Regions from separate parts of the Homo sapiens genome. Here region 1 is linked to region 2. Evidence: promoter capture Hi-C in human tissues and cell types (Jung and others, 2019). All regions are on one chromosome and are shown on one strand. The core of a region is centred on a gene start or on the middle of the fragment in contact, and the rest is flanking DNA. Distances in the headings are between cores, read along the strand shown. Region 1 overlaps APCDD1 (APC down-regulated 1). Region 2 holds the start of VAPA (VAMP associated protein A).

Region 1 (6,525 bases), core at 1,378-3,877, 560 kb after region 2:
ATGGGCTTCGAATTATACTTTGGGGCCTTTCTGGTTGGCAGCACTGCCCAAAGGCGGCACTGGACACTGTAGCTGCATAGCATTTCTCTTGTTTTATACTGGCCAGGTCCACTTGGTTTGAGATAGTAGCAGGAGAAGGGGCTTCATACCTACCTTTGGCTCGCTCTGAGTATAGTCTAGCCACCTTTCTGGGATTTTTTTTTTTTTTTTTTTACGGAGTTTTGCTCTTGTCACCCAGGCTGGAGTGCAGTGGCACCATCTTGGCTCACTGCAAGCTCCGCCTCCCGGGTTCAAGTGATTCTCCTGCCTCAGCCTCCAAGTAGCTGGAACTACAGGCTCCCACGACCATGCCCAGCTAATTTTTGTATTTTTAGTGGAGATGGGGTTTCACCATGTTGGCCAGGATGGTCTCCAACTCCCGACCTCCAGTGATCCGCCCGCCTTGGCCTCCCAAAGTGCTGGGATTACAGGCGTGAGCCACCGTCCGCCCGGCCGCCATCTTTCAAATGATCTCAGGTAACGGGAGGAAGGTGTGAATGTCATGAATTAAAACGGCCCACAGATAATCCAGAAACCTGGGGTTAGCCAGGAGCATCCCCGCAACCCGCCGTTCCCTCGGGGCCTTTGTGAAGGTCTGCTGAATAGGAAAAGCCTGCCCACTTTCTAGCAGAGACACCAAAGAGCCTCAAAACACCAAAAAGCACGGGGAGCCTTGAGTGCGAGGTCTGAGTGAGGAGGCAGGTGCGGCTGGGGAACTTGCTGGGCGGGCGTGGGCCGGGCTGTGGGCTCCGAACCCGACCTTGGACTAGTCCTTTGCACCCACTCAGGTTCTGGTTCCTTTTCCTCACCTTCATGCGCCTGCACGGGCTCTGATCTCTTCTGCTCTTTTTAGTACTGGGGGAAAAATTAACCATCATCACGTTTATTTTCTTACCTGCCTCTCTACCCCGTTGCACTCCTGGGTGTGGCTCCGCAGATGGAGTCTGAAAGCCCAGTCAGCATTGTTAAGGCTGGCGCCCAGGGGTACTCCAGGAGGGGACACTTCATTCCCGTCAATGTCCCTCTGCAGACCTGTCTGTGGCTCCTGGAGGGAAAATGCCCCACAAGTGAAAATTATTAAATATTGGCATGGCAATTAAAGACAGCAATTGTAAAGCTGACCTTTTTAGAATTTAACACCTTTTGGACAAATTGGCAAGTATGTGGACTTCAGAAACGGTAGCCAATCCTGGAAGCCAGTTCTGCTGTCATCAGCCGTGTGGCATTGGTAGTTATCTGACCTACTGGAGACTTCATTTTCCTTTTCTGTAAAATGGCAAAAATATAAGAATCAATAGGGTTAATGTGCAGAATCCTGTGGGCATCAGGATAGGGCCTGAATGCAAAGCTCCATCTCTCTTAACCTAGAGTAAGTCGCCCTTCTGGGCCAATGGCTCAGAGAGGAATGAAAATGACAATGTCGACTGACCAGGGAACATCAAAGTGTTTCATGATGCCTAGCCATAAAACACTTCCTCCCATTTTCTCCTCCCTGCTCTGCTAAGGCAGTTGTGGGAACATTTACCCAGATTCTTAAGAAATAGACTCTTTAAATCCCAGGCCTGATTCCTTGATGACAGAAAATTAAGGTGGAAAGAGCTTTAGGACCTTAGATACTACACGAGACATATTGTTAAGTAGGAAAAAAGGAAGTTATAAAATAGCGTGAATAATATGATACCATCTGCATAAAACTAATAATGAAAGGAGAAGAAGAGGGACTCTTTGCAAAGGAATCAGATATTTATGGAGGAAATTAATGACTGCCTCAGAGGAAGTGACAGAGTTGTCTATCTGGGATTGTCGGACAGAGACTTCACTTTTGGTACCTGTTGCATTTTGTGCTGTGATCTTCTATTACCTAAGCACAGTCATCACAGAAAATTTAGATTAAAAAAAAAAAAAAGCAAGCAAACACTCCCAGACCCAGAGGAATGCTGTGGCCACAGATGCAGGTGGCAGCCCAGCTGGAAGGAGGACCCAGGCTTCCTGAGCCAGCCTAGCTGCCTCGCAAGATGGCTGAGGGGGGGGGGGGTCAGTGGAAGGCCGAGTGGCTCTGGTAGCTGAAAGGGTCCATTCTTCTCTTGTCTCTCGCCTTGTACCTCTTGGCCTGCAGTGTGCAGCGGAGTCTTCAGGAAGTTTTCAGATCCTTCCCCAGGACAGCTCTGAGAAGGAACAAAATGGACTCAGCCATTGGTGTCTTTCCAGACCCGGGCACCAGAAAGACTGGGCACTGTGTGCCCACGCGGGCCCAGCCACAGCAGGTTGTCCGAGCTGTCTGTGGCCGCCAGCGGAGACAGGAAGAAAGGCTGGGAGAACGTCTTCAAAGACCGTACACGCCTGCCCAGGAGAGGCTGGAACCTCCTCCTTTGAACTCTTCTACTTCCCTAATTGCTGGTCCATAGAGACCAAGCTGAAAATTAGTTTAAATGCTAAATTGAGTTTCAAACCACGAGCCTCAGCCCCTCTAGAAACAGGACACCGTGTAAAAATAGAAACTTTAAGTCAACTTGTTTTTCTAAGCTTTATACAGCTTTGCTGTGAGGTCCAGAGTCCTTTGGCAAATAAGTGACGTTTGAAGAGATTCAGGTGTGCTGGGAGGGTTCATTCAGGATGGAACTGGCTACTCTTCATTATAAAAAAGTCAAGACAGCGTAAAGTAACCCTGAAAGAAGATGCTTTGCCTGAATCAAGTTTAGCGTCAGAGCAGCCATAATCCTCTGCCGAGATTCTTCAGAACTATGCAGTTGGAGGGGTAGAAGCCAGGCTCATTCTTTCAGGGATGGAATCAAATGGTAATTAAAAGCAAATGATTGCCAAGGTCGTTAGAGATGCCAGAGCCTCAGGATCAGACTCGTAAGCAAATGGAATTGGTCTTTCTCCAAAATCCTGCACTGATTTAACCACAGGATCGTAAATCAAAGGGGCTGTCTGAAAACCAGACAGCCTTCCCCAGGCTGTGCATCTGAAATACTCGATCCCAGCACATGTACAGCAGGGGAGCTACACACGGGAGGGAGAAAAGCACCGGGCTTTGGGAGTACCTGAGAACTGCAGAAAAAGAGCATGCTGTGCTTTCTCTCTCAAATTCTTTAGGAGCCGCTAGGCTGGAGCCAGCATATGTTTTTGAGGTAGCTTGCCTCTCAGAGGCTTTTTAGAGGATGTGTGACCTGTGCAGCTTCCTGATGTCAGTGACACCATGGGGATGTTGAGTCAGGTGGTCTTGGAGCCTGGACTTTTCAGCCTAGCTGCAGGAGCCAGCATGGAGGGACGTCTCCTGAGCATGTGCTTGGTGTGGCTCCTGGGTGGGTGGGCGGCTGCGTCTCTGGGGTATAGAAGGAGCCAGGTGCTTGTGGAAGAATTCCATACCACTTTTCTTTCTGCTAGTGTGGATTTGCAGAGGTGATGGGAGATGGACGAGGTGGTGGACAACCAGAAGTTCAAGAAGTCATGACCTAAGACAGTTTCAAGAACTAGTCTTACAGGAAGGAGAACCCTAGAAGAAAACTGTGACTGCTCCCTGGAGCCAGGTGTTTCCTATAAGGCAGCAAATGTTGCACAATTCTATGAAAAAACAGAGCTGGCAATTGGGATAGGTTGAGGGGGTCTTGACCCTGAAGGGGTTGCTTTTGTGGACCTTTTATCTGGGCCGAGGTGTGCAGTGTCACAATCACTGGGCTACAAGGCTGCTGATAGACACTTCTATTGCAGAAACAGCTCATTATATTTCTTGACTCCAGAGTATTTCAGCAGATAAACAGGCATGCAAGGTTGCTTTATTTAAGGAGTTAGGGGACCAGGAAATATTTGTTGTCAGGGACAATGCAAGTGGTAAATATTTTATCCCTTAAAAGGCAAGAAAGCTCAGAGGACATGAGGAAACCCTGCAAAAGCAGGAAATTGGCCATTTAAAAAGTACGCATGAGGTCCCTACTCCAGGGAGTGTTTGCTGAGCCCCAGGGGAGAAAGGAAGAGGATGGGCCAGCCAGGAGTGCCCAGTGGATTTACAGCAGATTTAATAAGTCTACTTTAATTATTTAAATGAATCAAAATGCATAGGAGTGGAAGAAAGAAACAAGTAAAAAGAAATAAAAATTCTTTTCGGAAACCATTCTTAAAGTCTTTTCTCTTAAAGAACCATCTTCTTAGGGTCCTTTTTCTCCAGTTGCTGGGTGAGGCAAAATGGTCTTTTTTATTATTCTAATGTTAACTAAAACAAAAAAAGGCCTTTGTGAGCTCACTTCTCAGATTCTAAGCTGCCTTGGAAGTCCATTTCCAGAAGGCTAATGTTGCTCTTAAGGACCTACCAGCTGCCCCTGCTGAACTCCAGGGTGCAGAAGTGTTTGGTTGAGTTTTGCTCCCCTCTGCTTCATAGCCAACTACAGACTCAGGAATTAGCAGCCTGGTTTCTCCTTTTCTCCCTCATCCTCCTGGCCCAGGCCCCTTCCTGGACAGTGGTAACAGGCCCGAGGTGGCTGTGCAGCCTCCCTGAGGCTCTCTGAGTACCCCTGGCACCACAGAGGTGCCTGCATCCTGGCAGGGATGACGCAGCTGCACGGGGTCTGTACACTGAGGGGCTGCCCTCACCTGTGGAGAGTGGGTGCTGGGCAGCAGGTGCCTCAGTCCATCCAGGCTGCCATAGCAAAGCAGCATGGACTGGGGACAGCCACTCACTTCTCACAGTTCTGGACGTTGGAGAGCCAAGATCAAGGCACCAGCATGGTGGGAGGCTGGAATCCTGGTCAGGGCTCTCTCCCAGGTTGCAGACTGCTGACCTCCCTCTGTATCCTCATGTGGCAGCAAGACAGCTGGAGAACTCTCAGGCCTCTTTTATAAGGGCACTAATCCCCTTCTTAAGGGCTGTACCCTCATGACCTAGTCACCCCCCACAGGCCCCACCTCCTAATTTCCTCACATTCGTGGTAAGGATTTTAACATGGATTTTGAGGCGACACAAACATTCAGTGTGTTGGATAGACAGCAAGCCTGCCTGGGCAGTCTGTACCTAAAGCCACAGCTCTTCACCCACTTCCTTCTGAAAGTGGCATCATCATGCTCCCTTTAGATGATCAAAATGAGCCCCAATTCACAAGCTCCTAGAATCCCAGATAGGAAAAGCACCCCGAGTTCCCTCCCACAAGGCAGGTGGGCGCCCATCATTTGTGATGAATGCTAGCTACTCCATTTAATTCTTTACATGTCCAATGCCAGCTTTCTCTCCGTTTGCCTGTTAGCCGAGAACCCTGTGCAACTCTCTCCTGGATGTCATGGGAAATATGACAAAGAGAGAACACTTGGTCTTGGCCTCAAAGGACTCGTAATACAGAAGACCCGAGAAGGATGTACCTGCAGGGTTATCTACAGCAGAAATTTAATCAAATACTTGGCACATCGCAGTTACAAAGAAAGTTTTCAACGTGGGCCATTGGCCACTGCAGGTTTCTTTGTGAGAAACATTTGTGTGTTTTTTATCCGAGGGAACAAAACCCTAGGAAAGGAAGTTTCCATCATCTACTCCCATTTTTCCTCCTTCTTGAACAAAACTTTTAGCTCAAGGAACACTGCTTTTGAAGGCTTGTGTTTCATGCAGCCTGCTTCCTTAGTTGATCTGTTCACAAGATCACATCAAGTAATTTCTTCCATTCTGGGAAGATGGCGAAAACAAACAGATACTGTCAGCAGATGTTGATGAACCACCTTTCCAGAAATAAACAGTGGCAGGGAACAGAGAAAGCCTGGAGAATCCCCATCAGTCATCAGCCGGAGAAGACCTTTTCCTGGGCTGGAGTCCTTGCTGGGGAAACGTCTGTTCTCTGCAGCCTGAGGCAGCTCTGGCCAGGAGGCAGCACTCAGCAAGTCCTAAGACCAAATTACCATCCTGGCTCCACTTTGGGTTTGTAAAGTCATCTGACTTTTTCTCTCCAGGTGCCTTAGTTGCCTCGTCTGTAAAATGTACCCATGGTCTCCTGGGAGGTTGTAAAGTCTAAGGAGATGCTGTACTTGAGCCTCCGAGACTCGAATATCCTGTAAATGCAAGCTGTAGCTATTTAACTTGTTACCTGGAGCTAAGCAGGAATCAGAGAGCAGAGTAGGCAGAACCCCACTCTTTGCCTAGAACATTGCTCATTTATAAAGTATAAGTTTCTTTCTCATTTTTAGAACAAGTTTAATTTTTTTTCCAGAGATTATTTGCATGGGATCCTTTTTCTCCCTTCCCCTTTCTGATGAAAGCTTTTTATAGTGTGTGTAAAGAATAGCAACAAGGAAACACTTTCTGGTTCCTCTGCTTTAACCTTCAAATCTTCTGGGTACAGAAGCTCTGGCTTTAAATAGCCCTTTCTAAGATTCGGGGAAAGGGGATGCCGTGGAAGCCAAGTTGGTGAGCCTGGGAGAGGACACTTCTCAAATGAGAGTCATGTCTTGGAACATGGATCCCCAAAAAAGAGGGAATAATTTTACGGAGCAAATGATACTCCACAGTACCAA
Region 2 (6,808 bases), core at 1,731-4,230:
GTACTAATAAATACCAAAGCACAAACCACTTAAATAGTGCACAATTCGATGTGAAGTAGAAGATTCAAAATGACTCAGTGATTATTAATCTAATGCTCTAAAATACGAATAGGGGATTAATCCCAAGATGTTTCACATATTCTTAGAATATTAGAATTTTAAATTCTTATATGTTTTAAGACTATACCTACATGATTTTTGAAGCAATATTGAGAAGTGAAAAAACAGTTGATTCCAACGACAGATGACTCAAATGGGCAGAGATTTCTTAATAATATAGACTGGGAAACTAGAATACATCCAATTCAGGCTTCCCATTAAATCTATAGTGAATGGGCGATCATTCATCCTCCCATAGGGGAGTTACTGGGAATTTCCTCCGCATGCTATTCTGCTAGTTGACTATTTGCACATGGGGGCTTCCCAAATGGTTTCCGGTAAGAGAAGTGTGCTTCCTGCTATGGAGGGACTGGATCAGCCTAGGCTAGCTGGCCCATGGAAGAGAGTTCTTAGGCCGGCAAAAAACTGGAGTTTGTGAGGGCCTTTAGGGTTGTCAATTCACAACTAAACCTATGTGGGACACTATCCTTTGGACTGATTGTCACTTTTAGCTTTTTTTTTTTCTTAAACAAAAACAAAACTTGAACCCCCATTTTAATAAACAATTTTTTTTGTATTCTACCTTAATGATAATTGACATCTCAAAATAAATTTTGTGAATAGGAAGAAATCACAGTAAAGGTAAATTTAGAATATGCTTCAAACTACTTAAGCACTCTATCCTCCTGCATCCGGAGTTGATTCCTTCCAGTGGGTTCCTGGTCTTGCTGACTTCAAAAATGAAGCCCCGGACCTTCACGGTGAATGTTACAGCTCTTAAAGATGGCACAAACCCAGGCCAGGCGTGGTGGCTCATGCCTGTAATCCCAACACTTTGGGAGGCCAAGGCGGGTGGATCACTAGGTCAGTCCTGTAATCCCAGCACTTTGGGAGGCCAAGGCGGGTGAATCATGAGGTCAGGAGATCGAGACCATCCTGGTTAACACGGTGAAACCCCACCTCTACTAAAAATATAAAAAAATTAGCTGGGCATGGAGACAGGCGCCTGTAGTCCCAGCTACTCAGGTGGCTGAGGCAGGAGAATGGCGTGAACCTGGGAGGCGGAGCTTGCAGTGAGCTGAGATCACGCCACTGCACTCTAGCCTGGGGGACAGAGCGAGACTCCCTCTCAAAAAAAAAAAAAAAAAAAAAGAAAGAAAGAAATGATGGCACAAACCCAAAGACTGAGCAGCAGCAAGATTTATTGTGAAGAGCAAAAGAACAAAGCTTCCACAATGTGGAAAAGGACCCAAGCAGGCTGCCCCTGCAGGCTGGGGTGGCCAGTTTTTATTGGCTTATTTGTCCCTGCCCATGCCCTGCTGATTGGTCCATTTTACAGAGTGCTGATTGGTCCATTTTACAAACCTCTAGCTACCTACAGAGTGCTGATAGGTGCGTTTTTACAGAGCACTGATTGGTGCATTTTACAAAACTCTAGCTAGCTACAGAGTGCTGATTGGTGCATTTTACAATCCTCTTGTAAGAAAAGTTCTCCAAGTCCCCACCCAACCCAGAAATCCAGCTGGCTTCACCTCTCACTCCCAGGAATTTCAGGGCTGAAAACACATTCCTCGTGGGTGGCACAATCTTCTGTGAATGCCAGGCTAGCAATTCCAGCAGGCTGTTCCTGGATGGACCCTAATACCTGGATCGCACATGAAAACTTGGATTTGGTGCCTACTTCTAGACTGCTGTTTCGTCTCGTTTATTTTCTAGACAAACTGTGCTGCTCCATGGCAGTAGCATCAATATGTCTTTTGTTTCGTGGCGCTACCTAGGGATTTAAATTCAAACCGTATCACAAAATACAATAAAGGTTTATTTACAGCACATTGGTTTCATTTGACGTTCCTGTACCGGACTACCCTGGCAATCGGCTAAAGTTTTGTCAGCAAGTTTGCTGCTGGGATTTTTCTTATTTGGTTCAGTTTACTACAGCCTATCGTAAGTGATGCAGATGGAGTTAGTTTCTAACATGTGAACGTGAGAACTGTTTTGGTTTGGGTCCATCATTAAAACTGAAGAAGATTATTTGGGTTCGATGGTGTAGATTTTTGACTTTTATTTCTAGTTTCTGTGTGCTTTGTCATATTTCCCCTTGCTTCCTAGACGAGGTGTGTTTCCTTATCTGATTTTGCATCACTGGAGAGAACTCAGGAAGCAGGAGAGGCTGAATTGGATACCACGGGGAATGCAGCCCTGCCAACAGAGGACTGGATAGAATTAGAGCAAACGGACACATCCCCCCACGCCTGTTCTCCACAGGGCAGATTTTATTAATATATTTCTAACATTGGGGCCTCGTTTCAGTCTTCAAGTTTTTTCTTTTTTAGCGCAAACTAGACGCGCTCTGAGAGCCAAAATTAGCGTCCGCGAACCCCACCCCATTGCCTCCAACAGACCTAGCTCTCCTTTCCACCCTCAAACAGCCGTTACTACAGTTCCCAGCAAGCACCGCGCAGGGCCGCAAAGGGCCAGGCCCTCGGCGAAGGCCCCGCCCCGCAGGGGGCATGCCGGGAGTTGTAGTGAGTGGGCGCTTCCCTACTACTACTTGTCCCTTCCACTGGGCATTCCCACTTGGAAGAGTGTGATGCGCTGCCAGAGCAGTTTCTCTAGTTCCGTACTCGGAGCTCAAGGTGACAGAGGACTGCGCTTCCAGCCCTGCGCTGCGCATCGCGTCGGTCCCGCGGACCTTTGCCCCGCCTCCTTCCACACCCGTTCCCTTGACAGCTGGGCTGCGCTCCGGGCCGCGGCAAGCCGCGAGCGCGCAGGCGCAGCAGCCCCGCGCCGCGCTAGGCCGGCCTGGAGGGCGGGACAAGCGCTAGAAGCTCCCGGCCGGGGGCGCGCACGTAGGCACGCAGAGGCCGTCACGTGGGTCGCCGAGGCTCGCAAGTGCGCGTGGCCGTGGCGGCTGGTGTGGGGTTGAGTCAGTTGTGGGACCCGGAGCTGCTGACCCAGCGGGTGGCCCACCGAACCGGTGACACAGCGGCAGGCGTTAGGGCTCGGGAGCCGCGAGCCTGGCCTCGTCCTAGAGCTCGGCCGAGCCGTCGCCGCCGTCGTCCCCCGCCCCCAGTCAGCAAACCGCCGCCGCGGGCGCGCCCCCGCTCTGCGCTGTCTCTCCGATGGCGTCCGCCTCAGGGGCCATGGCGAAGCACGAGCAGATCCTGGTCCTCGATCCGCCCACAGACCTCAAATTCAAAGGTAGGCAGAACGGGGACACCCCCGGGTGGGGTGGGGCGCGCGGACCGCTGGCTGTCGGCGGGGGGGCGCGGAGGGCACGTCCGCGGCCCTGGCCCGAGGGAGCGCCCCCTCCCCCACGCCCCGGCGCCTTCCCTTTCCCGGCTGCTTTCTTGCCGCCACCTCGGCCGGCCTGCCCCTTGCTCCGGCCCGCTTCATCCCCTCCCGCCCGCCCTCGCTGCGGTGCGCGCGCCGGCCGGGGCGAGGCGGAGGGGAGCCCGGCCCTGGCGCCGCCGCCGCCGCCATCTTGCGGTCCCGCGGGGGCGCCTCCTGGGCGTCCGGTCCCGCCCGCGCCGCGGTCCGCCTGGGCCCGCGTCCTTGGCCCCAGAGGCCGACGGCGTGCTTCGGCGGGGCGTGGGCGGCTGGGCACCCGAGGGCGTGCGCTCTGGGCTGCGGCGGGGAGTGGGCTCTGGAGGTGGCGCAAGCTGCGTCTGTCGCCCGCTCCCGGCTGTCAGCGGCGCGGGGAGGCTAGGGCACGGCGCGGGACCCCTTGGGAGTGAGAGCCGCCCCCCGACCCCTGCCCCGGCCCGGGGAGAGCTCGCTGCAGCCGGCCCTCGGGTTCCGCGGAGGGCGTCGCTTGTCACCTTTCCGCCAGGTTTAGAACTCGGCCGTCAGGTGTAGGACGCGCCGGGGAGGTGGAGAGTCCTTGGAGGTGCCTGGCGAGGGCTGCCCGGTGCTGTTGGCACGGACCCAGGTGCGTGCGGGCAGGAGCGATGCGTCAGCCGCAAACGGAGAGTTGTAGGTTCATAGTAGCGGGGCTTCCTGCCTTCTACGACATTTCAGTGTGCCACCCGCGTGCTTTTATTTAGCCCTTTAGTTGAGCTCCTCTGCTGAGAAACCTTCAGTGCGTGTGACTTTTTTGCTTTTACGTTTGCGGTTTCCGACAGATCCTGAGAAGGCTGATAAGGTGTCACCCAGCTCTGGAACTTTGTAGGTTTTTGTAGTACTGCCTGTGATAAGTTTTTTAGTCTGACTTGGTGATCCTGGAAGAATCCCAGGGGCTTTTGGTCGGTTTCCTTGTCAATATGTAGTGTACTTTAGGAAAGAGAGTTAAAATGTACAGATTTTTATTTTTTTTCTTTGTTTTTAAGGAATACTGAAAGAGTGTGAACATCTAATAGAAAGTAGGTTCCTTCCTATCTTTAGTTAAGTGTAAAGTGAGTCCCGTTTTGGAAGTCTATGTCTTGTATTTCAATTGTTGAATGAGAACAATTTTTGTGAGGTGTATAGCAATTCTAGTGCTAAAAGAAAAAATTAAATCCTTTATTGTTGTGTAAGGCTGAGTCCAAGAGAAAGCCAACTACATTGTTTTCCATAGGAAAAACTTCAGGTTTAGGAATTTAAAATATATTCTGGAATTATGAGATTAATATTGCATAACTACATTGCAAGCTTTTTAGTGCGTTTACAAATTTCTTTGAATAGAAGTGTAAGTGAGCTACTTGTTGGGTAAGGATTTGGTTTTAAGGTGCAGTGAATGTATTTTATTGCAAGTTTATGTAAGTTGTGTGATTTTTACGTAGTTGTAGCTGGGGGAAAACCTTTGAGGAATTATGAAGAGTCCTGACTCAGCCATTATCTTGAGATAATTTAATGTAAATCTGTATGGTGTGTTTTTTTTTAATATTTCGTTTTTATCTTTTGATTGGCTGTGTTTACAGTGAACATTTCCTCTACTGGATAACTATGTGTAAATTGCCATTAGGGATTTATAAGCCTTTACAACCAGTTTTAGGCCAGGAAATGTCCACAGAGTTTGAAGTTTTCTCCTTAGGGAAGTTGTTATGTTGCTATAGTAAGGGAGTAATAATAGTGGAGAAGCAAGTTTAAAAAACAAGCAAAAGCCCTACACAGTGACTTACTCATATATTTCCTTTTTTGGGGGTGTTGGAGAATTACAGCTATGATTATAGAACTCATTGTTTTTGTGTTGCCAGTAAAAATAAGACTAGCCAGGGAAGCAGAAAAGGTGTGTAGATGGTATAACAGAGACACAACCGTGTCTGAGGAAAGAAGCCCTTTCTCTATGTGCCCCATCCCTCCCTTAGGAAGCATTTAAGGAAAAGGCTTGTTTTTCATTTCAGGGGAGGTTTAGGCCAAGAGAGTGGTTGAGTAAACACACTGCTGTGAGAGAATGCCTGGTACTTAAATGCCCAATAGTTTGTTGTGTGTTTCAGTTTAAAGATGGAGATGATGGGGAGGATTGGGAGGTGACATTTGGTGTTTGATTCCTTAATATTATCGTTTTAGTCAAAGGTAAATTGTTGGCTTTGATGGAAACCTTTGTGTATTTAAATGCACAGTTCAACACTGAGGAGATTCATTTAGAATGTACAGTCTACTTGGGCTTAGTTTATGATAGAAAAAAATCATTTAACTGACTTACCCTAAGTCATTCAAAACTTTCTAAGTGAAGGACTTTTAGAAGACAGTTTTGCAAAATTCTTTGTCATCTTCTAGTAGGTTTATTTTAGTTATTGATTCTGAGTTTGAGATGGTTTCTCCAGGAGTGACTCAGGTAATCATTCTGAGATTGGATGGTTTTTCTTTTATACACCTAACAAGCATCTTGAAGATGAATTAACAGTATGTTGCACAATTTTGCAAAAGCAGACACCAACTATTTCAGTACATTTTTCTGTATACCTCAGTATTTAAAAAAAAGTTTGTTTTATACAGTCGTTAACATATAAAAGTGCATTTACGATGTAATGAATTCTGAAGTAGATCACTTGTGTTAGTAAAGAAAAAGAAGTAGACGCTGCTTTACTTCAAATTCTGTTTAAACCTTGGAAGTAATTTTACCTAGATTTCAGATTTGAAACTTGGTATTTTATGTGAAAGATTTTTTTTGTCTTTAAAATTTTTTACATGATAAAATTCCATTTATAATGTATTACACATTTTATTTTTCTACCTATTAGCAGTTTTTTTAAATTTTTTTATTTTTTGAGACGGAGTCTTGCTCTGTTGCAGTGGCTCGATCTCGGCTCATTGCAGTCTCTGCCTCCCGGGTTCAAGCAATTCTCCTGCCTCAGTCTCCAGAGTAGCTGGAACTACAGGCATGCACTACCATGCCCAGCTAATTTTGAATTTTTTGTAGAGACGGGATTTTGCCAGGCTGGCCTCGAACTTCTGACCTCAGGTGATCCGCCTGCCTTGGCCTCCCAAAGTGCTGGGATTACAGGCGTGAGCCACCGCACCTGACCCCTATTAGCAGTTTTGTAGAAAAGTTTGAAGAAGAAAGTTTATAAAATGCTAAAATAAATTTCAAATATATTCTTAATGATCAGAGAGAGACGAAAATAAACCAAAATCCTTATGTTGAGAGTGGCCGATAACAATAAATCAACAAAGAAAATTAAGCTCTCTGAGGGATCGAGGGACGTATGGTGTTAACATCAGCTAGTGCATCTGCATAGAAGCAGCACGGGGCGGGGGGGAAATTAGAGAATACTCCTCTGGATGGATA

The links. Contacts are between HindIII fragments. The study calls those that stand out against the background at their distance.
Region 1: a fragment that was not itself captured here is called in contact with the fragment with the promoter of VAPA in region 2 in 1 of the 25 tissues and cell types used here (hippocampus).

Annotation. Positions count from the first base shown.
Region 1 is chr18:10,473,732-10,480,256 of GRCh38, forward strand. All of the region lies in intron 3 of APCDD1 (APC down-regulated 1), which reads left to right. Among named protein-coding and RNA genes, the nearest start is that of APCDD1, 22 kb to the left of the region's middle. RefSeq lists a silencer at 3,781-4,075. The HindIII fragment of the contact is 3,578 bases long and covers 839-4,416 here.
Region 2 is chr18:9,911,036-9,917,843 of GRCh38, forward strand. It overlaps VAPA (VAMP associated protein A), which reads left to right and starts at 2,981. Exons shown (of 6, transcript NM_194434.3): 1 at 2,981-3,300. The coding sequence starts at 3,222. LOC124904245 (a long non-coding RNA gene) reads right to left here and starts at 2,913. Exons shown (of 2, transcript XR_007066284.1): 1 at 2,677-2,913; 2 at 1,898-2,298. RefSeq lists silencers at 2,916-2,965, 3,176-3,965 and an enhancer at 3,483-4,100. The HindIII fragment of the contact is 8,911 bases long and covers 1-6,808 here.